Linked DNA regions of Homo sapiens: regions 1, 2, 3, 4, 5 and 6 are each linked to region 7. The links are contacts of gene promoters, found by promoter capture Hi-C in blood cells and fetal thymus (Javierre and others, 2016). All regions are on one chromosome and are shown on one strand. Each heading gives the region's core, a stretch centred on a gene start or on the middle of the fragment in contact. The rest is flanking DNA. Distances are from core to core; before and after follow the strand shown.

Region 1 (3,703 bases), core at 68-2,567, 300 kb after region 7:
ATGTATTTGGTGGTAAGCCTAACAAAAAGGTAACTGCACTGCTTTGTATAGCACATCTTTAAAAATTGTTCAAATCTGATTTAAGGTGCTAATAGAAATTCAAGCCTAGAAACTACATTTAATGTGAAAATATGTGCTGGCCAAAGTTGTGTGCACACAATATGTTCCAATTACTTAGCAACCCCCAAAAATATTTTACCTGCATGTCCACTCGGCAAAATCAGCCTTCTCTCTGCCCTCTTCCAGCATGCACACTGACACTCTGACACTCTGACAATGGCAAGGCTGGCTGAAATCAGCAGTGAAGTGCAGGAATCTGGATGCTTGCCCTCACCATATCCTGAATCTTGGATGCTTTTTACTCCTCATCTTAACACATGCCAATGTTATGTTACAATATCTGACATTTGGTTTGTTTCAACATTAACTCTGCGATAAAAGTTAATCAACAGTCAGCTTCATTTTCCCCGCTTCCTGCCCAAATCAATATACATGACTCCTTTGAAGAAAGGGGAATGTAAACTAAAGTTGATCCTATGGTTTTAACTTACCTCAACCTAATGTATGCTTAAGGAAAGAACCAATCACTTACCTAGATACCATTGATTTAGTTTCTTTGTGTTGTTGTGAATTAATAAATTACAGTGTTTCCACTTTCTAAGTAAACTTTTTATCATTGATTAGTCCTCAGAGGCGAATTTACTTATATTTACTAAAAGACCAAATATACTGATTTTCAGAAAATGTAAACTGCAAGACTAGAACATGGTGTACATGTGTATAACTTGTTTTAAGTATAGAGAATATTAAATTATATGTTCATTTCAATCTTACAATCCTCCAAAAGAACTGCATGGTTTAGATCTATAAAATGAAAGATAAGAGAAAACACTACTATTAATAATTATATTTGTGTTTTTAATTTTTTTTTTTTTTTTTTTTGAGACAGAGTCTCTGTCTCCCAGGCTGGAGTGCAATTCTCCCGTGTTCAAGCAATTCTGCCTCCAGAGTGGCTGGGATTACAGGCACATACCACCATGCCTGGCTAATTTTTTTTGTATTTTTAGTAGAAATGAGGTTTCTCCATGTTGGCCTGACCTCAGGTGATCCGCCTGCCTCGGCCTCCCAAAGTGCTGGGATTACAGTTGTGAGCCACCATGCCTAGCCTATGTTTTTAATTTTTAAAAAATTTTAAATCTGTTCTGTAGATGTTAACTAGGGCTATTTATAGAAAAGGCTGCTGTTTTCATATAAAGTCTTTGATGGTATCACCTAATTTCCCTTCAGGAACAATGGACACATTTCTCATCCAATCCCAGCATTGTATTTGCTTGTTTATCTCTGAAAACTTACTCTACTGTTTCAACTGGCATTTAGACCTCCTACCCCACTTCAAGACTAGATGAAAATCAGAGGAATCAGGCAACTTTGCCTGACATTTTCAGAGCAAGAAAATTGGTGAATAAAATGGGCCTTTCTGTGCCTACACTTATAATTCTCCCCCAAAAAAGCATTGAAAAGATCAACCTAATATCTTTACTTTATAAGTATCAATAAGGCTTAATATGTACAGACAGTTTACCAATGTGATAATCAAATAGAATTGTTAGTAACAATGAAATAGAGTGACCATATTTAGAAAACATATGCTCATAAATGCTTCTCATTCAAAATGTATGCTTTCAATACCTAAGCTCACTTCCCTCTTTTAAAAATTTAAAAAATAAAAAATGTTTAAGAAAATAATTTTATAATAAATAATGAAATGCTTTTTAAATGTTATTAGATTCACGGGTACTTAGAGAGGTTAGCACAACATCTTGCGATTGGAATTTAGCTAGTTGTGAACTTGGGAGAGTTAATATTTGGTTGTAATCATGAAGATTAACATGCAAGAATTATACATTTTACTTCACTTATAAAAACAGCTTAACCATCTAAAGGGAAGAAAAGAGCTAATGTGCTTCATTCAGTATATGTAATTACAATAGGGCTTAGGGCAGTGCTTTCCAAATTTTAGTGAGCATAAAAATTATCTGAAGTAGTTTTAAAAATGCAGATTCGTGGCTCCGACCCCCGGGATTCTAAACCGTGAATTCTAGGATGAAGTCCAGGAATATGCATGTTTAACACCCAAACTCACCCTCAAATAACTCATACAAAATTAGAATTCAGACCCCTCTTGGACAACACCAACATAAGATGACAGATGTACTTGTTATTGCATCCGAAACCACAGAATCATCAGATAAAATACCCATCTTAGACCATCTTTCATATACTTTATATTACTTTGCTAAAGAACCAAGGTAGATAGCATTTAAAGGGCTGCTGATAAAAGTTAAGGTTTATTCATTTCAGGTACTATACTTCTCATTATGGTCCTTAAAAATTGGCCCACAGCTTTTAAAATTGATATTTAAAAGTCATGTGGAATTGGAATTGTTTCTTAACTTTCTGTTCATTTTTACTGTCTTCAATATTCCCATTTAATATTGTTTGATATTAAAATATAATGGAGTCACAGTATTTATCATCTATTCTTCTTTGGTTTCAAGGGAAGACGAGGGAAAACAGGACCTCCCGGAAAACCAGGACCCCCAGGACCACCTGTGAGTAAACAATACAATGACTGTCCCTTTAAAGAGTCTGTCTTTATGTCTGTGTGTTTACCTAAGGATTATTTTACTCCCCTGTAGATAATGATTTCCTTTATTCTACTGTTTAGAATGACTGGTTTCAGCATTTGGATGAGTAGTTCATACTCTCTATATTCCTAACTCCATCATCACCACAAACCAAGAGATGAGGGAGGCTGGTAATTGTCCATACACCTCACCCACTTCTTTATTACACAAATGGCAATAACAGTAGTGTCTGCTTGAACATCCCAAGCCAAGTGTCCAGATAGATGAATCCTGTTCTGAACCTACCTGAACACCATCTTCTAGATTTCTTAACATCCAGGCTGTTAGAAAATCAGACATCTGGGGAAGCATATCCACTTTTCTTGATATGAAACTATTTTGTTAGTATAATTTCATGATTTGGTAAAAAGTGCTATAAAGATCATCTAACCAGTTAGCTTATCTGGATCCTTTACCCCAAGCTTCTAGAAAAAAAAAATATTCAATTTCTTGTAGTTCTGGTAACTCTGCAGCCTATGAGAGTCTGGTTTGTGTCCAAGCTGCTCCACTGACACTGCACTCTCTGTGGTCACCAACAATCTCTGCATTGCAGATTCCCTGAGCACTTTTCAGGCTTCTTCTTACTTTACTGCTACACAGAAATGTATACTATTGACTGCTCTCTCCTTGAAACTCCCTATTCTGTTGGTTTAGCAACATTGGGTTTTTTTCTCCTATGCCTGGGGCCATCTTTTTGTCTCCATTAACAGCTTTTCTTCTACCCCCTACATGTTGGATGGATTAATGAATGCCAGTTTTTTATTTCAACCCAGACATTGTTGCTGAGTCCCAGGCTGGTACATTCCTTTATTTTTTAGTATCTCCACTTGGAAGTCTCCTAGCTACCACAAAAGTATAATGTCCAAAACTAATCTCTAAAAATAATCCTAGATTTTTTTGTTCTTCATCCTCTTCATCTAAACAGTCTCTAAATCATATCAGTTCTACATCCCAGTAGCCCACAAATCCTCTCCGTCTTCACTGTCAACGGCCTTAGTTTAGACCTCTGTCAATTT
Region 2 (4,050 bases), core at 505-3,004, 270 kb after region 7:
CATAAAAACCCTAGAAGAAAACCTAGGCAATACCATTCAGGATATAGGCATGGGCAAGGACTTCATGTCTAAAACACCAAAAGCAATGGCAACAAAAGCCAAAATTGACAAATGGGATCTAATTAAACTAAAGAGCTTCTGCACAGCAAAAGAAACTGCCATCAGAGTGAACAGGCAACCTACAGAATGGGAGAAAATTTTTGCAGTCTACTTATCTGACAAAGGGCTAATATCCAGAATCTACAAAGAACTCAAACAAATTTACAAGAAAAAAACAAACAACCCCATCAAAAAGTGGGCAAAGGGTATGTACAGACACTTCTCAAAAGAAGATATTTATGCAGCCAACAGACACATGAAAAAATGCTCATCATCACTGGCCATCAGAGAAATGCAAATCAAAACCACAATGAGATATTATCTCACACCAGTTAGAATGGCAATCATTAAAAAGTCAGGTGCTGGAGAGGATGTGGAGAAATAGGAACACTTTTACACTGTTGGTGGGACTGTAAACTAGTTCAACCATTGTGGAAGACAATGCAGCGATTCCTCAGGGATCTAGAACTAGAAATACCATTTGACCCAGCCATACCATTACTGGGTATATACCCAAAGGAATATAATTCATGCTGCTATAAAGACACATGCACACGTATGTTTATTGCAGCACTGCTCACAATAGCAAAGACTTGGAACCAACCCAAATGTCCAACAGTGATAGACTGGATTAAGAAAATGTGGCACATATACACCATGGAATACTATGCAGCCATAAAAAAGGATGAGTTCATGTCCTTTGTAGGGATATGGATGAAGCTGGAAACCATCATTCTCAGCAAACTATCACAAGGACAAAAAAACAAACACCACATGTTCTCACTCATAGGTGGGAATTGAGCAATGAGAACACATGGACACAGGAAGGGGAACATCACACCTGGGTCCTGTTGTGGGGTGGGGGGAGTGGGGAGGGATAGCATTGGGAGATATACCTAATGTAAATAATGAGTTAATGGGTGCAGCACACCAACATGGCACATGTATACATATGTAACAAACCTGCACGTTGTGCACATGTACCCTAGAACTTAAAGTATAATAAAACTATATATATATAAAAGAAAATTTAGTTTATATGAAAAAAATTAAAAATGAATATATACATAATAAGTAACTATGGATCATGATAAGTACATCTGGCCTTTTAGTTTCAACGTAGCCATCACTTTTTAGAAAAAGGTCATATTATAAAAATGAATGTTAATTATTTTTAAATTAGATAACAAAAGAATTTCTTCTGGAATAAGGGGAATAAATTTACATTTATTTGCATTTGTATTATCAGATTTTTCATTTATTTCAAACCATTTAAGGCATTTAATAGATGATGGGTGAATTATAAATATTTGGAAAACTTTTTGAAAATTACTGCCTTTATCCAAAAACTTTTATTGGAGTGGATGAGTTCCCCATGTGAATTGTCATTTGGCCAGTAACAGGCACATACCGTGATGAATAAAATATAGATTCTGTTATAGATTAGAGCCTGGTGAGAGTAACAAATCATTACATGAATAATCACTTAAATGAATTAGTGGTAAGTACTTGAGAGAAAAAGTGCAAGGCACTAGGAGACTGAAACAAGGCATTGTCTCCAAGTGGTACATCAGGGAAGATCAAGCCTGGTTTTCTTAAGATCAGTTTGGCTGTGATGTGAATGGATGGAGGAATGTGTAGCTTCAACTAGGAAGCTCTTACAGATGAGCAAGAATATGGGAGCAGCAGGAGTGGAGAGAAATGGATGAATCCAAACGTATCTTGTAGATAAAGCCAACAAGATTTTGTAACTGTATGTGAGAGAGAAGTTTAAGAGAGTTGAATGTGGAGAATGAGTTCTAGATTTCTGGCATGAGCATGAAGAGAGTGTGGTATGGATTTATTGATTTGGGGCATGGTGGAAGAGGATCCAGTTCTGGAGGGAGGATCCTGAGTTCAGCATTTGATGGGGTAAACTGTGGATGCCTGTGAGGTAGCAGTGGTTCCATCAAGCACGTCGTGGGTCTGAATGCAGCTCAGAGATAAACTGGAGTTGTAGATCTGGGAATTGCTGGTCTAGAGAATCCAAAGCCCACAGATGTGTGAGATCAATGTGAGAGAATGTGGACTGAGAAGAAAATGAGACAAAAATCTCCCGCATTTAATGGTTGATTAGGGAAGAAAGAAGCAGCAGGAAAGAAGTAGTCATAACTGCTGAAGTTTTTTTTGAATGGCAATATCATCATTTTTAATTTCATGTGGAGTAAGAATTTCTGTCTAAAATAAGAATCAGGAGACTTGACTTTCAGATTAATACCTGGGATTTCCTAGGACTTTGTTATGATCTGAAAAAAAAAGAATGTTTATTTTCCCTACCACTTTATATTATTACAAGAAAGCAGTAAATAATATTTTTAATATTAAAAGTTCAATGTTATGAGTAGGCATGTTTGAAGCCAACACCATAATCATGCATTTCCTTAGAATATACTTTAAAAGCTACTCTCAACCAAAAATATAATTTTATTTATAGAGTTTAAATGTATAAAGAGGTATCTTTTTCTGCTTGCAAATATTGTTACCACTTATTTATGGTGGTTTGTTGAAACATGGTTCCAATCATATGAGATTCTTCACTGGCGGTGAACATTTGGTCTCACACCTGGTGTGGGTCTGCCTTTTTTTCTTTCTGGAGTTAGCTACAAAGAAGCCAGTCAAAGAAGGGCAATTCATCATTATTAATATATTATATAGTTCAACCTTGAAAGAGCTCAAATTACTTTAAAAGTTTGTTTTAATCAACAAAATAATTATTAATTTTCACAACATTCTTTGTGAGGCAGGTGTACTTGAAACAGTGTATTAACATGTGTCTCTTTTTCCTCATAGGGTTCCCTGGGGATACAAGGCCCCCAAGGTCCACCTGGAAAAGAGGGTCAGAGGGTAAGTAAAGCTGGAACAACTGGTGGGCATTACTAACTTAGGGGATACTTATTTGGGAACACTAATGAAAATGAAACCGAAATAGAGCAAGCAGATGGGCATATGGAGAGTATCAATTATCCAAAGGCTGAAATTTGAGATTCGAGATTTTGACAGAGGTTTTGCAATTCAGAAAATTCTATATTTTTCAAGATTGGCAGCACAAGTGTAGAGATATTGTTTGGATAAAATGAATTAGCCCTAATTTGATCTACACTACTTTGGTCATACTTTTAGTTTTTGAATTAAGTTGATGAGTATCTTTGTGGAGGTCTAGCCTATTTATTAATTCCATAAAGGTTGTGGATATTAACTACATTCTTTATCCAAATTAAATTATTGACTTCACTGGCTTTTCATAACTCTCCTTTCATTGCCATTTATTGCCTTTAACTGAGACAAAATAGTAAGCAAATAAATCATCGTTGGAATTGGTAGTAGAGCAATAACCTCCTATTTCTAGTGCAGTTCAATTTCATCATTCCACAGTAAAACGAAGCCCTGCAGTGTTATGACAACTGGTCAGCTTCATATGAGCAGTGGGGACCCCATTCTTGTGTTTTACTGTTATTATTATCATTTTCAAACCATTTTAAAGTCTCAAAAAATCTTGTGTGTTCTTTCTCATGTGCTTATTTATGGCAGTCTTTGTACTAAATAGTACAGGTACTGTCAACTTCTGTTCCCTTGTTGATGAGCATTCCATGACTTAGAGTTTAGATGATGTGCCTAAACTTGAGCTTCTGACTGTAGTCCTACGTTCTCTTTTATTATTAACCCCAAATATGTTTCTTAGACATTCTCATTTATTATTCCCAGTTCTGCCTTCTGTAAAATAAGTCTCTTTCCTCAACTACAAATATTTGAGGGTCAGTGGTGTATTGTACTAAGGTTTACCTTTTATCAAGTTAATAAAATTCCAATTCTCTTAACTTGTTCTCTTATCGTATGGATTCTGGACTCTCCAACATGCCAATAATCTTTGTCAGAAAACACTCATTGGCTTTCCAGAGTTGTCGAGAATGAGAC
Region 3 (4,119 bases), core at 260-2,759, 350 kb after region 7:
GGCATTCTTCAATTTCCTCTCCAACCTTAATGAGATTATGAAAATTAAAGAAACATTGATCTTTCCTTCCCCCCACGTGTTTAGGGTGAACCTGGAGATCCCGGACCCCCTGGTTTAATAGGAAGCCCAGGACTAAAGGTATATAAGAAATAACTAAGATTTCTTGGGAAATAATTTGGGAATTGTAGCCATTCTGTGTAAAACATGGTGCTTTGGTATGCCACTCATTTTCTTCACAAATGCTCTCCAAGACTTTATCCTGTTTCCATGGTGATTTTCCCCACTGGCTGCATTTATTACACGCATAGTAACTGTCTTTTGGTTTTCACAATAGGATTTCTATACTCTTTTTCAGAGCATATTCACAATAGCATCCCTAAAAGCCTTAAGAGTAAACAATGTGAGCTAAATCTACGACCTTGAGCTATATTCTAAAAGGAACAGAATTCAAGTTTCAGTTTCTAAACCAAAATTATGCAACGTTGAGTTGCTTGAGTTTCCCAAGTGGGATTCCACAGGAGTGTCCCAAGAGAGCAGCTTTTGGAAAATGCAGGAGAAATTAATGTGGTGTACTCCCAGACAATGGGTAGGGCAAGTTACCAGGTATCACCTGCTGGTGAGAACACATAAATTAAAAGTATCTGGAAACTATCTTGGTAATCACAAAGCACATTTCAGTATTATACAGATAAAGTGGGAAAGTGGGATGGTGGAAAGTTGGTCTTCCTATACATGAAGATCACACTATTCTTTACAAATACTCAGGTACAATCTATCTTTTTTTTTCTTTTTTAGCAAAGCTAAAGTATATACCACCTTTTATTTTAGGGTCAGCAAGGATCTGCAGGCTCCATGGGACCCAGAGGACCGCCAGGAGATGTTGTATGTATAATGTCTTTGATATTTCTGGAATTGAAATTGAGACTAGGACATGTTTTTAAAAACATCAACATGTGTTCAAGTAACTGAGTTATCCCTCATTTCCCAAAGACATGGGTCATCTATGCCACAAAAACTGATCATACCTAATGTCAGGAGCTATTGGGAAGACTAGACCCTTCATATAATCATGTGAGGTCCTTTTGAGTATCATTAGCCTAATAAATTGGTTTTTGGAGCTCAAGTTAATCAAATTGTCATTTTGGACATGCTTGTCAGTGCTGTACCAGCAGTAGAGGAGATTGGAAATGTCAAAAGAAATAAAGAACACCAAAAGAGAAAGCAAACATTTTCAATATTCACAGTTTTTAGTTCAAGTCTCCATCTAAGGAAGACATTTCGAAAGCTTCTATCATTTTCTAGCAAAAGCCTTCCAAAAAAAGCAAGTCTTTTGGCTAAAAGTATGTCTGGAGGAAGATCGACAGATTGCATTATAACCTAGCTTTAGTGGACTTAAAATACTCAATACACCTTTCTATTCATTATCCGGATCAGCTTTTTGTTCCTTGGACAACTTTCTAGCCTTCTGACAACTTGGGAGCTGCGAGCTCTCCATCAGTTCACACTTGAGCAAAATAAGAAAAATCCTTGGCCATAACTCCTTGGAGACTGATCACTATCTGACTATGATTAGAGTTCCCTCCAGGCAACTCTTAGGATCTCTCCTTTTTTCATGCCCTGGGAACAGCCCCTTAACCTCACATTCTATTCTCCATGCTCACCGCTTGAGCCTCTCCTGTCTACTAGTCGGTGCACATATTCTGCTTGGTACTTTGAACACCCAGTTTATAGAGCAAAGCTTTTGATCACTCCCCTATGCCAAGTAATGGGCCACTGTAGATAAACCTAGTGGACAGATCTTATGAAAAGAGAGATAATCCTGGTGGCACAAGTGGAGCCACAATGCTCAAAAACTGAGACTAAGTGATAGTGGCCAGAGCTATAAAAAGAACAAAATCTAAAGGGAAAGAGCCACTGTTTCTAAAACATAGTAAAAATATATTTTTCTAGTTGCCCTAGAGTTCTTTGGAATCATTATGTGATGCTGCCAACCACCATCCTTCCTCGATGGCAATAATATGGGTGAGACGTTCGGTTCAATTCGACTTTAGTTTCTTTCCTATGGCATCCAGGTGGCTTCACTTGAAACAACAAACCACGTAGAATCACTAATATTTTTCCAGGTCTTAAAGGCCAAAATCAATCCAACTCCTTCTATTAATAGGTTATATGTTAAAATTCTGTTCTCTTGACAGAGATTCACAGATATAGGGAAATGTTATTGTAAGAGATGTTCTCATTACTCTTTCCTATTAACTCTGAGTTTTCTAGGGATTGCCAGGAGAACATGGTATCCCAGGAAAACAAGGCATTAAAGGAGAAAAGGTATAGTTTACATTTTCCTCATTTTATATGTTAAGTAGATAGGAGGAAGAGACAGAGGATCATAAGGGAGATGAAAGGACAGCCCAGGGCTTCTGGGATTGTACAGATTGTGCACATTAACTACAATGTAAATGGCACCCCCTAGAGTTGTGCATTTGGCAGCCCTGGTTCTGGCACAGGAATGCCATGTGACAAAATGAACTGACAGATGAAGATATCAGGAGTCTGAAAGTCAAGCTCAGTTACCAATCCTGGTATAAACCTAAGAAGTCTCTTAATCTTGCAGGATCTGTTTCTTGATATCTACATGGAAACAGTGCATTAACGTTGAACCATTATTGGAGAATAACTTAAAGAAAACATAAAGATCGTCTATAGAAATTTATTAATAGATATGCCCTTTTGTGCATACACATGCATATGTTTCATGATACTGCTAACATAACTAACTGCAAAATCTAAATGCACTGAACAGGCATGAATTAGGTACTCAATAAATATTATTGAGTGAGTTGGTGAGTGAGTGAGTGAGTGAGTGAATGAATGAAGTTTGACTGGCTATGATGACAACTTAAAACAATGGAAACCACTACCTCCTCACTTCCCACCATGAACCTGAGCATCAAAGTAAGAATCTTACCTTGTTTTCTACAGGGAGATCCGGGTGGGATCATAGGCCCTCCCGGGCTTCCAGGTCCAAAAGGTGAGGCTGGTCCTCCAGGGAAAAGCCTGCCAGGGGAACCAGTAAGTATTAGCCCTTTTGTTAATATTTTTCTTGCAAGTTCATTAATTACTACTTGTGGGTTCCTAGTTTCAGATCACAAGTATGGGAATAAGTTTAGGTCTGCAAAAAAAGGAAAAAAGAACTTAAAACAGAACTACCATTTGACCTAGCAATCCCACTACTGGGTTTCTTTTCCCAAAAGAAAATAAATAGTTCTACAAAAAAGACAGATGTATTCGTATGTTCATTGCAACTCTATTCATAGTAGCAATGAGATGGATTCAACCTACATGCCCATCTACAATAGACTAGATAAAGAAAATGTGATACATACAACCATGGAATACTATGCAGCCATAAAAAGGACAAAATCATGTCCTTTGCAGCAACATGGATATAGCTAGAGGCCATTATCCTAAGCAAATTAATGCAGAAACAGAAAACGAAATACTACATGTCCTCACTTATAAGTGGGAGCTAAACATTGGTTGCACACCAACATAGTAGAGATGGGAGCAAAAGACATGGGGGACTACTGATGGGGGAGAGTTGAAGGGAGGCAAGGTTGAAAAACTGTCAGGCACTATGCTTACTTCCTTGGGTAGTGGGATCATTCACACAATAAACCTGAGCAACATGCAATTTACTCATGTAATAAACCTGTACATATACCCCTGAACCTAAAATAAAAGTCAGGGGAAAAAAGAAATATTCATCTATTCATCTTATTGTTTCTTTTTTTTTTTTTTTTGAGACAGGGTCTTAATCTGTCACCCAGGCTAGAGTGCAGTGGTACAATTATGGATCACTGCAGCCTCCACCTCCGGGATTCAAGTGATCCTCCCACCCCAGCCTCCTGAATAGTGGTGACAACAGGCACACACCACCAAGCCTGGCTGATTTTTATATTTTTTGTATAGATGGGGTTTCACCATGTTGTCCATGCTGGTCTTGAACTCCTGAGCTCAAGTGATCTACCCATCTCGGCCTCCCAAAGTGCTGGGATTACAGACATCTTACTCTATAAATCAGAGATAAAACCTCTTAAAAGTTTGATAAGCAAAGGGCTT
Region 4 (3,940 bases), core at 269-2,768, 380 kb after region 7:
ATTATATGTTTAAATGTTGGTATTACTAGTATCTCTTTATTATTATTCTTTTAATTTTTTTATCCTCTCAGTTATTATCCCAAGTAAACTTTAGTATCATTTGATCACACTGCAATTTTGTAAGAATTGCATTAAATTTATAAATTAGTTTAGTTAGCAATGACACCTTTACAACATTGTCTTGCTCTCCAAGAACAGAGCATATCTCGTCATTCATTAAATCAAGCCTTTTATGTCCCTGAGTAAAGTTTTTTAAATTCAGTTTCTGCCCCCAAAAATTGCCATTTTATTATCCCATATATATAGTCGTTAGTATTTTTAGCATTGTCAGCTTTATCTAAAATATCACATTGGCTCTTAAAAAGGAGTTGAGTCACTCTGTTGTTCAGAGCAATTCAAGGGATCTTCTAATTGGCCAAATGAGAACTACAAATCATTAGTTGTAGATCATTTTATTCTAACTCTATATCCAATGAGACAAGGATAGGAAAAGCTTTTTGGAAGACACTCAAAGTGCTTAATCTTTTAAGCAAGAGTAATGATCTTTTGAACATGTAGAATAAAAATATTGACTAATTTAACTATAAGTATGTAAGGGGACATTAAAATAGGTCACAGAAATGATTATGCTTGCTTTCATTAAAACTATTATTTACTTTAGTTTTATGGAAAATAAAAAAGCTGTAACGAGTTCAGTTGTCAATTAGCTACTCAGTTTGCTATTTTTCCATCTACACACTAGCTTCACCCCATCTAATATCAATAACACTTATCAGATCCAAAGGAAAGCTTTACCAAATCCAAATTATTATTTGAGAATTAATTTCATAACTAAAGACTTCATTGATGTCATTAAAGTAGCAATGTTTTTAAATCCCAACAGGGAGATCGAGGCCCAGCAGGTCCCCCAGGAATAGCAGGGATGTCGGTGAGTTCAGATTACTTCACATCATTTTCACAGGTAAACGGTTCTATCTCCATGATACACCTGTGGCCAGGGATCAAGACAGGCAGGAGAGCATACCATAACTCCCATGGCATTAGGTTCCTGACAATTCTAGTTTCATAAATAATGCCACCTGTATTTTCCACCTCCACAATCCTCTATTTCTTTTGTTTTGTTTTGTTTTTTGTCCTCTTTTATTTTCTTCCCAAGTCACTTTCATGGAGGGGAGAGGAAACACAGTTACTATACATTAATTTATGAGCACAGCTTTGGAAAGTTTATTGTGTTTCTCTATTCTTGTCATATTTCAAGGTTTCTCAGTCTTCAAAAGACAGAGTTCTTATCCTCAGGCATGTACTTCAAGTTCCTTGTATTAATGCAATCTGCCTGAGTTATTCCTTAGCCCAGTGTTATTAGCAGAGCTTTATTGCTGCTAATGTTTCCTCATAAACTAGCCCTTCAATCCTCTCAATCATTTTTGTTGCTCTCTGGTGTCAAATGTTTTAATCTCATCAAGGCCTTTTCAAATGAATAGGAAGTGTTCCAGGAAAGGTTGAAATTATTTCTCTGAGCCCTAGAGATCATTCTGATCTTCATTCATGATGCTCTAATTAAAATTTTGTGGTCACGCTTTATGAATAAGAGGCCATTTATCCTCTTGCTAGGTGCTCCTGCAGGGCAGGTCCAGGATAACATTACAGGAAAGTCAATGGAAACCATGGGCTTGTATCACAAGAATATAAGAAAGATAAGATAAGATAAAGGCCCTACAATCACCACCCACAGTCACCCACCGAGATCTACTGACACCCAACACCACCCAAAGCCCTGCTCATCTCCCACTGCCATCCCACAAAGTGCTCAGAGCCACTCTACTTCACTCCATTAACTTCTAACAACACAAAATAGAGCCCCATCCATCATCTGCATCCTTCGTAGATGATGACATTCCCTTACTTAGCCATTATAGATCAAGTCAAATATTCGTATGACTGTAAAAGTAGCATGAAAATATCTTCTTTGGAAAGCTCTTCCAAATTTTTTATAAAAGGAAGTATTCTTGAAAGTTGACTACACACTTAATTCTATTCCCTCACTACTGCCCCACTCACAGCCATTCCCAGCAACATATTTGGAAATCAGTTTCTGGAAGTGTCCTTAGAGAACCTTTACAACCTGTTCCTCTTATACTCACATCCTGTGATTTGAATTTTTGTTTCCTTGTGATAAAATAAAGTCTAGTTTTTTTCATTGTGTTCACCCAGGTGTGTCTACAAATTACATTTTGCTATTACCCTAAATTAAGCTTATCTTCTAGGAAAAAATACTGGCCACCATTGCAAGTATTTAAAAGATGTGCAACAGTGGCCACAGGCAATCCAAATGAGAAATTCCAAATATGTTTTTCAAAGAGGAAGCATTATTGAGATAAGGGGCTAGCCTGCCACTTAGTTGGATGTCTAAGATCTGATATATTTACTAAAAAAGCAGTTTTCATATGTCATAATTAAAAACATTAACTGGCTAGGCATAGTGGACTCACACATGTAATCCCAGCACTCTGGGAGGCCAAGATGGGCAGAACACTTGAGCCCAGGAGTTAGAGACCAACCTGGGAAACATGGCAAAACTCTTGTCTCTGCAAAAAGTGCAAAAATTAGCTGGGCACCTTTAGTCCCAACTGCTTGGAGGCTGAGGTGGGAGGATCACTTGAGCATGGGAGGCAAAGGTTGCAGTGAGCTGAGATCGTGTCACTGCACTCCAAACTGGGCAACAGAGCAAGACCCTGTCTCAAAAAATAAAATAAAATAAAAGCACTGACTGACAATTACATAAATAAGAAAGGGTAAAAAATTTACATACTACAAACATGTTCAGTTAAAGATGCATGTTAGATTTTTATAACTGGCCCTTCTGCGGCTCAGAAGATAAAATAGTTAAAAGAATCTAGAAATAGACAATGGTGATGGCTAGATGACAGTGTGAATGCACTTAGTGCCACTTAAGTGTGCACTTAAAAATGGTTTAGAGGGTAAACTTTAGGTTATGTATATTTTACCATGATAAAAATTTTTTTTCGAAAAATGGTGATTGTTCTAGTTGAAGCAGGGCTGGGGCCTGCCCACACAGAGACACTGGTAACTCAGCTGATTACCAAGGGGACCCAATCCTGCTCTTCCTAGAACGGACCGGTCTATCCCTTTCCTGTATATTCAGGGCTAACCAGGGATTTCCCCTAGAGCTTCTTTCTTTGCCTTACTCTGAGGAAAGCGTGTGGGTTTACAGGAAGAAGTGCCTGTGAGTGCTGGTCGTGGGGTGGGGCCTCCGGTCAGCATGCTCTCCCCCGGATGCTCTGAGTTCTCCACTGGTCCTACCTGACCTTAGGAATGACTTCCATCAATGTCCCTTATCTCTTTGTCTCAGATCTCAAGGCCCGAGCCCTCTATACCCGCCATGTCCCACAATAAGACCCTTCAGGTCATTGGCCTTCTCAGCTCTAACACATCTTCCCACTCAGGCCCCTAACAACTTCAGCACAGGCAAGCTGTGGGGACCCAGGGATGCTCTCTCTAACTTCTGCCTGCCTAGCTTTGCCATTCAGCACCGTATCTCTACCTATGGAGGGATCTCCTTCCGGAATTCTAAGCAGCAAGTTGAAAAAAGCCCATTTCTTTTCATATTTCTCCAAAACCTACTTGGCTTTTTCAGGTCTCAGCCCCACCACACCTACATCCCACGTCGTCTATCTTTCCCAGCCACATTAGACCAAGGGACAGGAGGTGGTTCCTTCTCAGAGGCAACCAAGCCTTGCCTGCACACTCAGGCCTTGTGTGCTTCCAGTCTCCACTGGACCGTCTGCCCCTCTCGTCCCTCGCTGTGGTCTGTCTGCTCCAGGATCGGTCATCCAAGCCATGGTGTAGTGACACAAACTTATCTGTTTCTTTTCCTGTCAACAAAACATGGCTTTTCAAATCAAACATGATTTTTTCAGGT
Region 5 (3,696 bases), core at 583-3,082, 360 kb after region 7:
TCTATAAACCTGCATACAAGTTAATGTTAGGGGAATAAAAAGAATGAGTACCACATACCGATATGTAGAGCCTGCACATGCACACATGCCCATGTATACACACATACACATACACACACACACACACACAGCACTGCCAATGAGATTGATAAAATTTTGAAGAAAAATATGTCAACATTCTTTAACACCAATACACACAAGATTTGGCCCAAGACTTATGAGGAATTCTAGCATGTTCAAGTAGAATTTTTAAGCCCTTCTTCATATCATATCACATGAATAGACCTGAAGTAACACATGATGCCATTTGGCATTGAATGGACAAACCTAGAAGAACTTGGTCCTTGATCCCACTGATGCAAAGAAACTTGATCCAGCTCACAGTCCTATAGAATGCTGATAATCAATATGCAGTAATGTTTCCATGGCCACATCATCTAATATTTATAAAGTATATGAAAATGCATATATCATAATAGTAAAAGGTAAAGGAATTGTATGATGACAAAGAATGGTATGGCAATCCAGAAAGAATATTTTACTCAGTAAAGGAGACTAAATCCTGAAAGAATGGAATCATTCAGTCTAGAACTTGATGTATCACATGGTTATCTGAAATAACAAAAGCATATTTTAAAATAGTTTTTTCTCATAATAGAAGTGATCTCAGTCCACTATTGAAAATTGGGAAAATACAAAAATGCACTAAAAGATAAAATTTCTCCCTATTCCCACTACCCAGGAGGGACTTCTGGCAATAGTAATGTCATGGTCCACAACTCTATTAGTCCATTTTCACACTGCTATAAAGAACTTTCCTGAGACTGGGTAATTTATAAAAGAAAGAGGTTTAATTGACCCACAGCTCCACGTGGCTGGGGAGGCCTCAGGAAACTTACAATCATGACAGAAGGTGAAGAGGAGGCAAGCACCTTTACGAGGCAGCAGGAGAGAGAGCAAAGGAGGAACTTCCAAACACTTACAAAACCATCAGATCTCCTGAGAACTTACTCACTATCATGAGAACAGCATGGGGAAAACCACCCCCATGATCCAATCACCTCCCTCCCTCTACATGTGGGGATTACAGTTTGAGATGAGATTTGGGTAGAGACTCAGAGCCAAATCATATCAACAACACCTCATCTATAAATTCCAAAACCAAAGCCTCTGAAAACCCTGGAAATGTTTCCCAAGTTTGGCTTTGTTTCCCAAGCAAATTCATTTGGCAGCCCAATCTGGCCTAACTCACACGGAGCTTGTCTATTCCACTCTGTCAGAATATCATGTTTTGCCACAGAAATATTTGTGTGTTTATTAGAGGGCACTGCCTCAGGCACCACTGCAGTGTGATATAATATTCAGTATGTATATCATGTTACCTGTGAAATGAAGTGATAATCCAGAATTCTAAAACACATCTAACACTAAAGTTTCTGATAAAACTTATCTATTTGTCGTGATAAAATAATAAAAGCCTGTATGTATCATTCCCATCTTTTAGGAAGTACATTTAAAATTGTTTAAAAATTTAGACCCTGTGCTATATAAGATTTGTGACTTTATTTTTACATGTTTTCTAACTTTTTTAAAACATGATTTTAATAATTGCAAAATATTTCATGTTATAAATTGTATGTAATTTATCTAACAATATTCTGTTGTTGGCAAATGTATCAAAGTAACAAAACTAATTACATAAGTTAGCTAATCTTACCATTTCTTCCTTGATATATAAATGTATCAGCATCTTAAATCCTATCCGGTATAATTAGTGCTATTCTACAAATCTAAGGAGGGGAGGGAGGGGAAATCTATTCATTATTATGCTTAAGCCATTAAAGCGTTCCAAATTTAAATTCACCAGTGAGCCAAATTTCTTCTTATAATAAACTGACAAGCTAAAATAAATATTATATCATAAAACATATTCCATTTTTCCCTAGCTGAATGGAGCTTAAGTGTAATCATCTATTTCTTCAATGGCATTCTGCCAATCTAAAATTTGTATTTCCATGTTTTACCAGTACGAGATTCTTAGATACTACTGCTGACGGAGTGGCCCTATAAAATAAGAAATGCTCTATGAATCACCAGATTAAATTATGTTTGCTTCAGATTCCATGTCATGGCATTTTAGCTCACCCTTCTTACTCTTTAAAACTGAGTATTCACACATATTCTTACTTATAAGTGAGGGCTAAGCTATGAGTACGCAAAAGCATACAGAGTGATATAATGGACGTTGGAGGCCCAGAAGTGAGGAGTATAGGCGAGGTGTGAAGGATGAAAAACTACCTATTGGGTACAGTGTACACTACTTGGGTGATGGGTGCACTAAAATCGCAGACTTCACCATTATACAATTTATCCACATAACCGAAAATCACTTGCACCCCTAAAGAAAAATTTTTATTTTTGAAATTAAAAAATTAGAATTAAAAAAGTATATTTGTATATGACAAACATTATGTTTCTCGATTAGCTAAATAAGTGTTTAATGTTCAATGGTCAAAATATTTGATTAACTAAAATGCCTTCTTCCCAATGATATAACAGATTTTATGATGGGAACTATCTTTTCCAGGGTCTTCAAGGAATTCCAGGCATTCCAGGTGCTCCAGGCCCGACTGGACCCCCTGTAAGTATTTGTTAAAACGATTGCACTCACAGCTTATATCTGCTGGTTTGATGCAAGGTGAATTAATTTTCTTCATTGCCTTTTGTTCTCTGTGCCTCTATGTAGATTGTCCAGATATTGCCTGGAAAAGTAGCCTCATCCAAGCTCTCAGATTTTCATTTAGTATTACTTAAGGCTACTCAGTGTCCTGGGGACTTGCCTCAGAATTCCACCAGACCAGAAAGCAGTCTGCGATTAAGCTAGTGTGTTTGAAATAGAAATTGCATATAAAAGAGCATTCTATTTTTTATTTATAATTTTTTGGCACTAACCTTTAGAAGAGATAGTCAAATGGCACCACAAACTGAGAATTTATTTTCTAAAGGAAAAAAAAGTGTGCTAAGGATTATCAGATTTCATTTATTTTTGTTCCTATGTATAAAATAAAATACCTCTATTTTAGTCAAGGCTTTCACTGCCCCTCAAACACACCATCAAAGCCTTCGTGTCTTTCACTGTCTTGTTTTCCTAGAACAGAATCTCTTTTGCTTTATACTTGCCAAACCCAATCTCTCATTCAAACAGTTTAATTCTAGAGTCATCAGATAAAATATAGTGCATGCAGTTAAATTTGAATTTCAGATAAACAAATAATTGTTTAATATAAGTTCATCCCAAATATTGTGTTTTTATTTGCTAAATCTGGCAACCCAGCACATGCTTCAACTTCTCCACCTCATCCTTTCTTAGAGTTCCTATGCCAATAGAGTCTTTACCACACCAGTAGGAATGTAATTATATATTTTAATGTTCTGAAATAAGGATTTTCCATAATTAAAGTTGTGTCATTTATGCTTCCGCCACAGTTATACAGAACAAACCTGGCTTTAAATTGTTCACTAAAATTAAAAACGATGAAAAAGAGTTGTGAAAGAAACCATGAAAATTATAGCTAACTCTGTTCCCAAAGGATTAAAATTAAATTTTATTTTTCAGTGGTAAAATGCAGATCATAGAACTCAATATGCACACTGTTAATTCTGCCGCCTTGAAGTATTTAAAATGTTGATCCCTAC
Region 6 (3,735 bases), core at 783-3,282, 320 kb after region 7:
GTAACCTGAAAACATGTAATTTTGAATCCAGAAAAAAGCTTCCAATAGGAGATTGAAGAGCTATGGTGCATAAGTGGCATCTGGATGGCTCAAGGAGACTCAGTCAACAGAGATGAAGAGGTACAGGGTACTTTTAGAGAAAAGGGAGAAAGGAAAATAGTTCAAGATTGAGGATCAGAGAGTGAGCAGGCGATTTGACTAAGGAGCCACAGAGCTCCTGATTCACAATGTGCAGAGTGTGCTAAAGCTGGATCAGAAGGCTCAAGCTCTGACTTGCACAGACAGCTTATGGCAAAGAACAGTCAGGGAAAAAAAGGCAAAAATATTGCTCTTTAGGCTAAGTATACCGGGTGAATTGGCTAAAAAGTGAAAATGCAGCTAAGACTAGGACTAAGGACTATGGTTTTTAACAGAGAACTCTTCCCAACTTTTAAACTTTGGGAATGTGCAGCCAAAACTGAAATCTACTAAGGGAATGATAATGCAAATAGCTCATCATTTTTACACTACGTGTCTGACAAGTCCGGTGGCAGACATCATGGTATTTCTGTTTTCCACCTCCAGCAAGATTTAAGCCAAAAACTATTTAAAAGCTGCTAGAACTATTGCTGAGAGTATATACTTCCCAAATTGAATATAGCTTTAATTCACTTTATCACACCTGCTGTAGTTCTTTGCAGTAAGAAACGACATCAGGATCTCTATCCACACCAGGTTTATAGGCCTCTCAGATAATTATGAATCAGTACAGTTAGGTTCAGAACAGTTGTTTCTCCCTGGAGTTCATTAGCATATTTTAGCTGCTCTGTAATTGTATACTCACCACATTAATCCAGATGTCCTATATCTCCCAATCCCATACAAATAGAGTGAAGCAAATCTCCGTAAAAAACAGACATTGTATAGGCATGACTTGTGTACAATCATGTTGTGGGTCACTGTTATAAGCAAGATATTGGGACATTTTTCCTTTCCATAAACCTTTAACCACTTTTCCTAGCAGAGCTCCTAAGAGCATAAGCCAAGGCTGACATGCCCTCTGCAGTTGGCCTCTCTTCACCACTGGACCTGGGTCATCTAAGTGTCTTTTGATGGGTCCTTGTAAATGCAAACCTCAGAGAAAGGGTTCTGTCAACTGCCCTAGAGCATCTACACCACCATGTGATGCCGAGAGATCTGTCACTTACCACAAGTCTTTAACTTCTTTCTTGGAGTTGATTGGTAGTCTGCAGGATAGACAACTCTTGCTAAACTTGGCGACAACTCCTTGGATCTTCTCCAGCCATATTTCATACCAGAATAGAAGATAGAAAAATAGCACATCTCTTGGGATGTGGCTGGTAGGATAGCCACCAATTCTGAAACCCCAAGGTTGTGTTCCAACTGTAAACAGAGTTGCTTTTGCAATTTAAATGCTTATAGCTTATTAATGACCACTATCTTTGACAGTGTTAGAGCAACCAAGTGAGACACTGCCTCACTGACTATAGTCAGAGTAGAGGGGGACTTCCAGAAGACTCTAATTGGCATCTCTTTCTAGTCTCTGAAGGGTTCCTTCGGACCGCTAGGAGAGTTTGTATAAAGTATTGCCTGCAGGGTAGACGGTTGGCTGTAAATTTCTGTCACATTAAACTTGCAATTTGTGGTACCCAAACTATCCCAGTGACTAAAAAAGTGAGAAAGAAAATGTCATCATAAATACTCATGATGAGATTAAGTGGTAGAACCTAAAACTTCAGATCAAACCCATTTCGAGTACTACTTTGAAGATAAGACATTTTGTGACAAAAGCAGAACATATGAAAATGTAGAAGTAATTTTTATGGGTTTATTAATCTTGTGGATATTTGAATAATAACGTTCAACCTTTTCTGTAGCCTCATTGCTCTTGGCATTGTTTTTAGTGAGTTGTGCCCTTGCCTTTGTTTTTAGAGGGAGCAGCTGCACTGAGCCGTGCATATTCTCCCACCCCACCCCCAGTGGTAAGCTCAGCAGCAGCCAGATCAGGATCCTGCATGAGAAGTATATACTTTGCTTATGAAATACAGCTATCTTCTGTGTGCATATGACCAGTCTGTAAAGGATCATATCCCATTTCACCCAATTTTTTACAAATCATTATCATTCTATTGTTTTTTACTGTTCTCACTTACACTGCTACCTGTTTTATTCTGTGCAAACCCTACAACACATTTGCTTTCTTGCTTCTTTTCCTTACTGCCTCCCAGAACCCTTTGGGAGGCTTCACACTTCTTGTATCTCAGACCACCTGCTCTCCCAACCTCTACAAACAAAGATAGGATACATTTGAATACAGTCACAGACTAGGAGAAATGTTTTGTAATATTCAGGGATAATCTCCCTAACATGGGTTAAGAGACTGTATGAACATAGATGGGAGATACAAGGAGTAGATAAAGAGGCCTCTCTCAACTACACGGTATGACTACAGCTAAAGGTAATGTGTTCACTTTCCCGCCTCCTGCACCAAGCACTGTGAAGTACCTGGCAGAAGTGCTACGTAGAAGTTTTGTTGATTTTTTTTCAATTTCAGTAAAGTAAATAGAACATAGAAGAGTGATCACCCAGTATTCTCTAGGGTACACACATCATCATGATAAGAAAATTACTGCAAAAGTGATTTTTGGCTGAGTTTGCCTTTAAGTTAAGATAGTAGAGTAGACGAGAACTGGCTTTGGGCCCAATGCTAATGTTAAATATTAGCCCTGCCACTTACCAGTGGTGTGACCTTGGACCAGTTAAACATTTCCAACCCTCATTTTCTTTATCTTTGAATCAGAGAGAATGATGGGACATTCCTCCTGTCATTGTAAGGACTAAATTAGTTAATTCCTGCTGTAATGCCTAGCACATAATAAGCACTATATAAATGTTTGCTATTGGCCGGGCCCGCTGGCTCACGCCTGTAATACCAGCACTTTGGGAAGCCAAGGCAGGTGGATCACTTGAGGTCAGGAGTTCAAGACCAGCCTGGCCAACATGGCGAAACCCTACCTCTACTAAAAATACAAAAATTAGCCAGGCATGGTGGCACATGCCTGTAGTCCCAGCTACTCAGGAGACTAAGGCACAAGAATCCCTTGAACCTGGGAGGCAGAGGTTGCAGTGAGCTGAGATCGTGCCACTGCACTCCAGCCTGGGTGACAGAGTGAGACTCTGTCTCAAAAAACAACAACAAAAAGAGTTTGCTATTATTATTTGACTGATTCTGCTACTCTATTTGGGAGACTGTATTATTAATTTTTATGCTATATTTAAGAGTTCTAATAATTAAGACCCTCTCTTTTAACTAGATTGAATATGTATGAAGTTAAATTTACCTACTTCATCACTGTTCTTTGATCTAATCAGCCTTGTCATCAACACACACTCACTGAATGCCTACTATACATATACCCCTAAGCCACCTCTTAATGCTACTACATATGGTGTCTAAAATTCCTCCTTGCCTCATTATATGTTTGCAGAAGGATCAACATGTATGGAACTTCATGTCTCCTGACTTTCAAGAATAAGATCTTAACTTGCATGTTCTTGGCTAGATACTTTGTGTAACAACCCCCCCACTCAATGATTGCTTTCTTTCTTTACTTCCTCTAACTGACCTAGAATTCTTTACACAATGCTGGCTGCTGAAAAGTTGCATGAAAAATATATAATGCCATAAGAATTCTCTTCTTACAATAGCTCCGTTATTGTTTCAGCATGGTAACA
Region 7 (3,856 bases), core at 952-3,451:
ACTCAGTAAACCAACATTTTCTAAGTGGCCATGGCATCATGTTATAAAACCATGCATGGGTAAAAGAGCCTTTCAAAGTGCAAGATGGGCTAATGGATTTTAATGTAACAATGAATGAAATGCTCATTGATAGGGTTTCAGATTCCACCTTGCAGCTGACATGAATCTTCCACTTGTTGAGCTTTGGTGTAGTGTCAAAAAACATCCACAATTATCTGAAAAACGCTCCTCTGTTTCTGACTACCTATCATTGCAGCTGTATTTTCTCCATACACTTCGACTAAAATAACATACCCCAAAAGACTGAATGTAGAAGGCAACAAAAGAAACCAGCCTTTCTTCTAATAAACCAGGATTTAAAGAGATTTGCAGAAATTTAAACAAAAGTCCTTCTTCCTAATGCTTTTATCCACGACAACATTCAATTCTGATTTTATTTGTCCTTGCTGTAATATTGCCAACTTAAATGGCCTCTCTTCTTCATCTATCCAAACTCTACCACAATTCTCATTTTCTTCCAATATTGTTGTCTATTCTCTTAAGTCCTGCTTTATTTATAGTCACACTTTGGCTTTCGGTCCATAAAATACATGTTTCAAGAATTTCAGTTTTCTCACTTATCTTCAGGCCCTCTTTAAAGCCGTATTTTGTTTGGTTTACATCCTCTTACAATTCACACCACTTCTGTACCGTAAATGTTTATTAATTTATAACTGCCAAGATAGTCTCACGTAACTTTCATACATTACATGCTTATTTATTTTTTTCTAAACAAACTAAATCTGATGGACTGGAAAAGCCAGGGGGCTCTCCAAATACAGGACTGGGTGGCTGCAGAGACCACAGTCAACCTTTAGGGTTTCATTTCCTCCAAGAGAGGACTAACATGTTCCAGGGTAAAGGCAGTGTTTTTATCTGTGACAGTGATGGCAGTAACAAGAGGATCCTTTTCTTAAATTTTCACACCATTCTTTTCTTTTATTTTCTTTTTTTAGTCTCTACTGCAAAAATCTACTAGAACATACTACATAGGTACCAGACACCAACTGGATCTGACAATTAAAGTAAAACCAAACAAGCCTGATTTCCAGAACTGGAGGTTTTTGTTTTGCAATGCAAAAAGGTCAAAATACGTGAGAACAGAAAGTAACTACAGCCTCGGACGATGAGAAAAGAGAAGATTTGAGAAGGTAGAGAAGTTATGAAAGGAAATAAATTGAACTCCCAAATAAACCAAAGGGTTTTAATATGAACAGGGAAGTAATAGCCAGGCCACTCTGAGACATTTCTATCTACACTTTGCTCACTGAATATGCAGAAATAAGATCGTTGGAAAAGAAAGCACCTGAGGTCAGACAGGTAGTAGTATATACTCCGATACTGGTAATAAAGAGGGCTACAGCTCCGCCCTCCACAGGTATCTACACCAATCAAAAAAAGATTAGAAGAGAATGTGACACCTGGAAGTCAGAACGAGCAACTCACGTCATCAAGGCAGAATCACACAATGGGCACAGAGGTTGGAGACTCACTAGCCCCAAGGGTAGGGAAAATGAGGGAAAAAACATACAGAGAAGGTGACAAGTAAACAACGCCAGCGCCTACTTAACTTGCAAAGATCCAGCGCTGCCGCCCCACACCGTGTGACAATGTTTTACAGGGGACGAAAGGCCACCACATACTTCTCAACCCCGAGGGTCTCTTCCGCCCCCAAACCCCACCGGCCCCATTGCCCAAGTCAGCGATGACGGCAAGAGCTTCCAAAAAGGACCCTGCAACCCTAGACGTCATCGGTGAAATGACAGCAAAAGAGACCGGAAATCGACACCCCCCTGCCCCCGCCGCCCGCCCAAGCCCCCAACACTAAGGAGCCCTCCACAGTCCAAGCTAAAAGCGGGGCGGGGCGAAGAGGGTCTCCGGGGCCCGGAGAGGCCAACTGCAGGGCCTGCCCCTCCCTTCCTCCCCCAGTCCAAACATGGGGAAAACTCCAAGCGCCTCCCCTACCAGTAGTAAGAGGCCGAATATGCACCAGCCGATCACCAGCTCCGCCGAGGCCGCGCCAGAAGTCGCCATCTTCGCTTCCGGTCCAGACCAACCTGAGCGCCCGGGGTGGGGAAAGGGGAGGGGGAAAGGGGAGAGAGCGCGAGATATACTGCACCCGCGCACCCTAAAGGTTAAAGGGGCGGAGGGGGAGGAGCAAGTGGTTGCCAAGGAGACTGGACCCACTAGCGTCCCCTGGCGGCGAGCCGAGCGGGGGCGGGGCAGCAAGGACTGCTCAGGGGCGGGGCGCGTGCGGACGCAGTGACATCACCACGCTGCCCTCGCTGGCTTCCCTGCAAGCTGAGATGTGGGAGGGCTGCAGAGCAGGGTGTTGGCTCATAGCTGGGCAACCTATTGAGATATTTGACTCAGCCTAAGTTGATAGACTAGAACAGCAAGGGAACTCCACAAAGAATGGGCTAGGTGGACCTGGAGATCCAAGTCAATTTTAGAGGTTTATACTTCTTCACCAAAAGGAAGTTTGGCCCTCGTGTACAAGGTGGAATGTGTGTGATTAGCAGAACTCCTTACCAGGTTGCAAGAATGGCTGATGTCAGGCCTCTGAGCCCAAGCTAAGCCATCATATCCCCAGTGACCTTCACGTATACATCCAGCTGGCCTGAAGCAACTGAAGATCCACAGAAGTGAAAATAGCTTAGCTGATGACATTCCACCATTGTGATTTGTTTCTGCCCCACCCTAACTGATCAATGTTCTTTATAATCTCCCCCACCCTTAAGAAGTTTCTTTGTAATTCTCCCCACCCTTGAGAATGTACTTTGTGAGATCTACCCCCTACCCCCAAAACATTGCTCTTCACTCCACCTCCTATCCGAAAAACTGTAAGAACCAATGATAATCCCACCACCCTTTGCCGACTCTCTTTTCGGACTCAGCCCGCCTGCACCCATGTGAAATAAACAGCCATGTTGCTCACACAAAGCCTGTTTGGTGGTCTCTTCACACGGACGCATGAGACAGCTGACTCTGAATAAAAGTTGACTAGCTGCCCAAATCACTCTAATTTACTGGCACTGGTGCCCAGCCGGGATAACTGGTTGGCTGGACATGAACTTATCACATGATGTTATAGCCTTTCTATTCAGATGTATGCATGCCTGTGAATTTCCATGATAGCTTTGTATGTAAAGGTATATGCATCAGCAAACAAAACACACTGCCATAGGCCCACAATGAAGAAGAAGGAGGAAACTCTTGGGATGGCTTACCTGAGTCCACAGGGAGGAAACTCTTGGGATGGCTTACCTGAGTCCACAGGGGTGTGAGTGCATGTTTCACCACTGTGATGTAGTCAAGAAACAACTCTGAGAAAAAATACCATCATCTTTTTCCAATGTATTATGTGGTGATGAGTTATGCTCTACCTATAATCTACTTCCGGCTGGAAGCCTGAGGGAAAAAATAGGATGGTCCTTCCTGCCTGGACAGAATAAGAAGGGAATAGGGGAGAATACAGTTTTAACTTGAACTGGTACCATCATAAGCTGGCTTTAAGCCCTCTAGACCTGCAAATGTTTGAATTTCACTCTTTCTTCCTAATAATTCATATCCCTGGAGACCTCTGTCATAGCTTCCTTAAAGTGAAGAGAGGTATCGCTTCCAGGTTGATATCTCTATTCCAGATTGTATAGAGCACCCTTGACATAAGTAACTACTTCTTAGAAAAAGATTCTGTTTACATTTCAAAAGGAATCATGCCAAAAGGGACCAGATGTTCACCTAATCAATAGAGACTGCACCCAACCAGATAACGACATAACCAGGCACACTCTTTTATTATTATTATTATTATTAT

Evidence for each region. The method cuts DNA at HindIII sites, captures the fragments that hold promoters and counts their contacts. A CHiCAGO score of 5 or more calls a contact.
Region 1: a contact is called between a fragment that was not itself captured here and the fragment with the promoter of LMBRD1 in region 7, in 1 of 17 cell types (naive B cells). The highest score is 5.4, in naive B cells.
Region 2: a contact is called between a fragment that was not itself captured here and the fragment with the promoter of LMBRD1 in region 7, in 1 of 17 cell types (total B cells). The highest score is 6.2, in total B cells.
Region 3: a fragment that was not itself captured here is called in contact with the fragment with the promoter of LMBRD1 in region 7 in 1 of 17 cell types (total B cells); the score reaches 7.1 in total B cells.
Region 4: a fragment that was not itself captured here is called in contact with the fragment with the promoter of LMBRD1 in region 7 in 2 of 17 cell types (total B cells and naive B cells); the score reaches 7.3 in total B cells.
Region 5: a fragment that was not itself captured here is called in contact with the fragment with the promoter of LMBRD1 in region 7 in 1 of 17 cell types (naive B cells); the score reaches 6.2 in naive B cells.
Region 6: a contact is called between a fragment that was not itself captured here and the fragment with the promoter of LMBRD1 in region 7, in 1 of 17 cell types (total B cells). The highest score is 5.1, in total B cells.

The regions. Positions count from the first base shown.
Region 1 is chr6:70,099,611-70,103,313 of GRCh38, forward strand. COL19A1 (collagen type XIX alpha 1 chain) reads left to right here. Exons shown (of 51, transcript NM_001858.6): 16 at 2,559-2,612. Among named protein-coding and RNA genes, the nearest start is that of COL9A1, 200 kb to the right of the region's middle. The HindIII fragment of the contact is 3,579 bases long and covers 1-3,107 here.
Region 2 is chr6:70,065,495-70,069,544 of GRCh38, forward strand. It overlaps COL19A1 (collagen type XIX alpha 1 chain), which reads left to right. Exons shown (of 51, transcript NM_001858.6): 15 at 2,929-2,982. Among named protein-coding and RNA genes, the nearest start is that of COL19A1, 200 kb to the left of the region's middle. The HindIII fragment of the contact is 5,965 bases long and covers 1-4,050 here.
Region 3 is chr6:70,141,939-70,146,057 of GRCh38, forward strand. It overlaps COL19A1 (collagen type XIX alpha 1 chain), which reads left to right. Exons shown (of 51, transcript NM_001858.6): 22 at 85-138; 23 at 829-882; 24 at 2,272-2,325; 25 at 2,980-3,069. Among named protein-coding and RNA genes, the nearest start is that of COL9A1, 160 kb to the right of the region's middle. The HindIII fragment of the contact is 453 bases long and covers 1,284-1,736 here.
Region 4 is chr6:70,175,637-70,179,576 of GRCh38, forward strand. It overlaps COL19A1 (collagen type XIX alpha 1 chain), which reads left to right. Exons shown (of 51, transcript NM_001858.6): 42 at 884-928. Among named protein-coding and RNA genes, the nearest start is that of COL9A1, 130 kb to the right of the region's middle. The HindIII fragment of the contact is 1,463 bases long and covers 788-2,250 here.
Region 5 is chr6:70,159,313-70,163,008 of GRCh38, forward strand. COL19A1 (collagen type XIX alpha 1 chain) reads left to right here. Exons shown (of 51, transcript NM_001858.6): 35 at 2,588-2,641. Among named protein-coding and RNA genes, the nearest start is that of COL9A1, 140 kb to the right of the region's middle. The HindIII fragment of the contact is 4,140 bases long and covers 1-3,696 here.
Region 6 is chr6:70,116,907-70,120,641 of GRCh38, forward strand. All of the region lies in intron 16 of COL19A1 (collagen type XIX alpha 1 chain), which reads left to right. Among named protein-coding and RNA genes, the nearest start is that of COL9A1, 180 kb to the right of the region's middle. The HindIII fragment of the contact is 3,993 bases long and covers 37-3,735 here.
Region 7 is chr6:69,794,809-69,798,664 of GRCh38, forward strand. LMBRD1 (LMBR1 domain containing 1) reads right to left here and starts at 2,202. Exons shown (of 16, transcript NM_018368.4): 1 at 2,005-2,202. The coding sequence starts at 2,073. RefSeq lists enhancers at 1,153-1,709, 1,534-1,583, 1,710-2,265, 1,894-2,123. The HindIII fragment of the contact is 19,066 bases long and covers 1-3,856 here.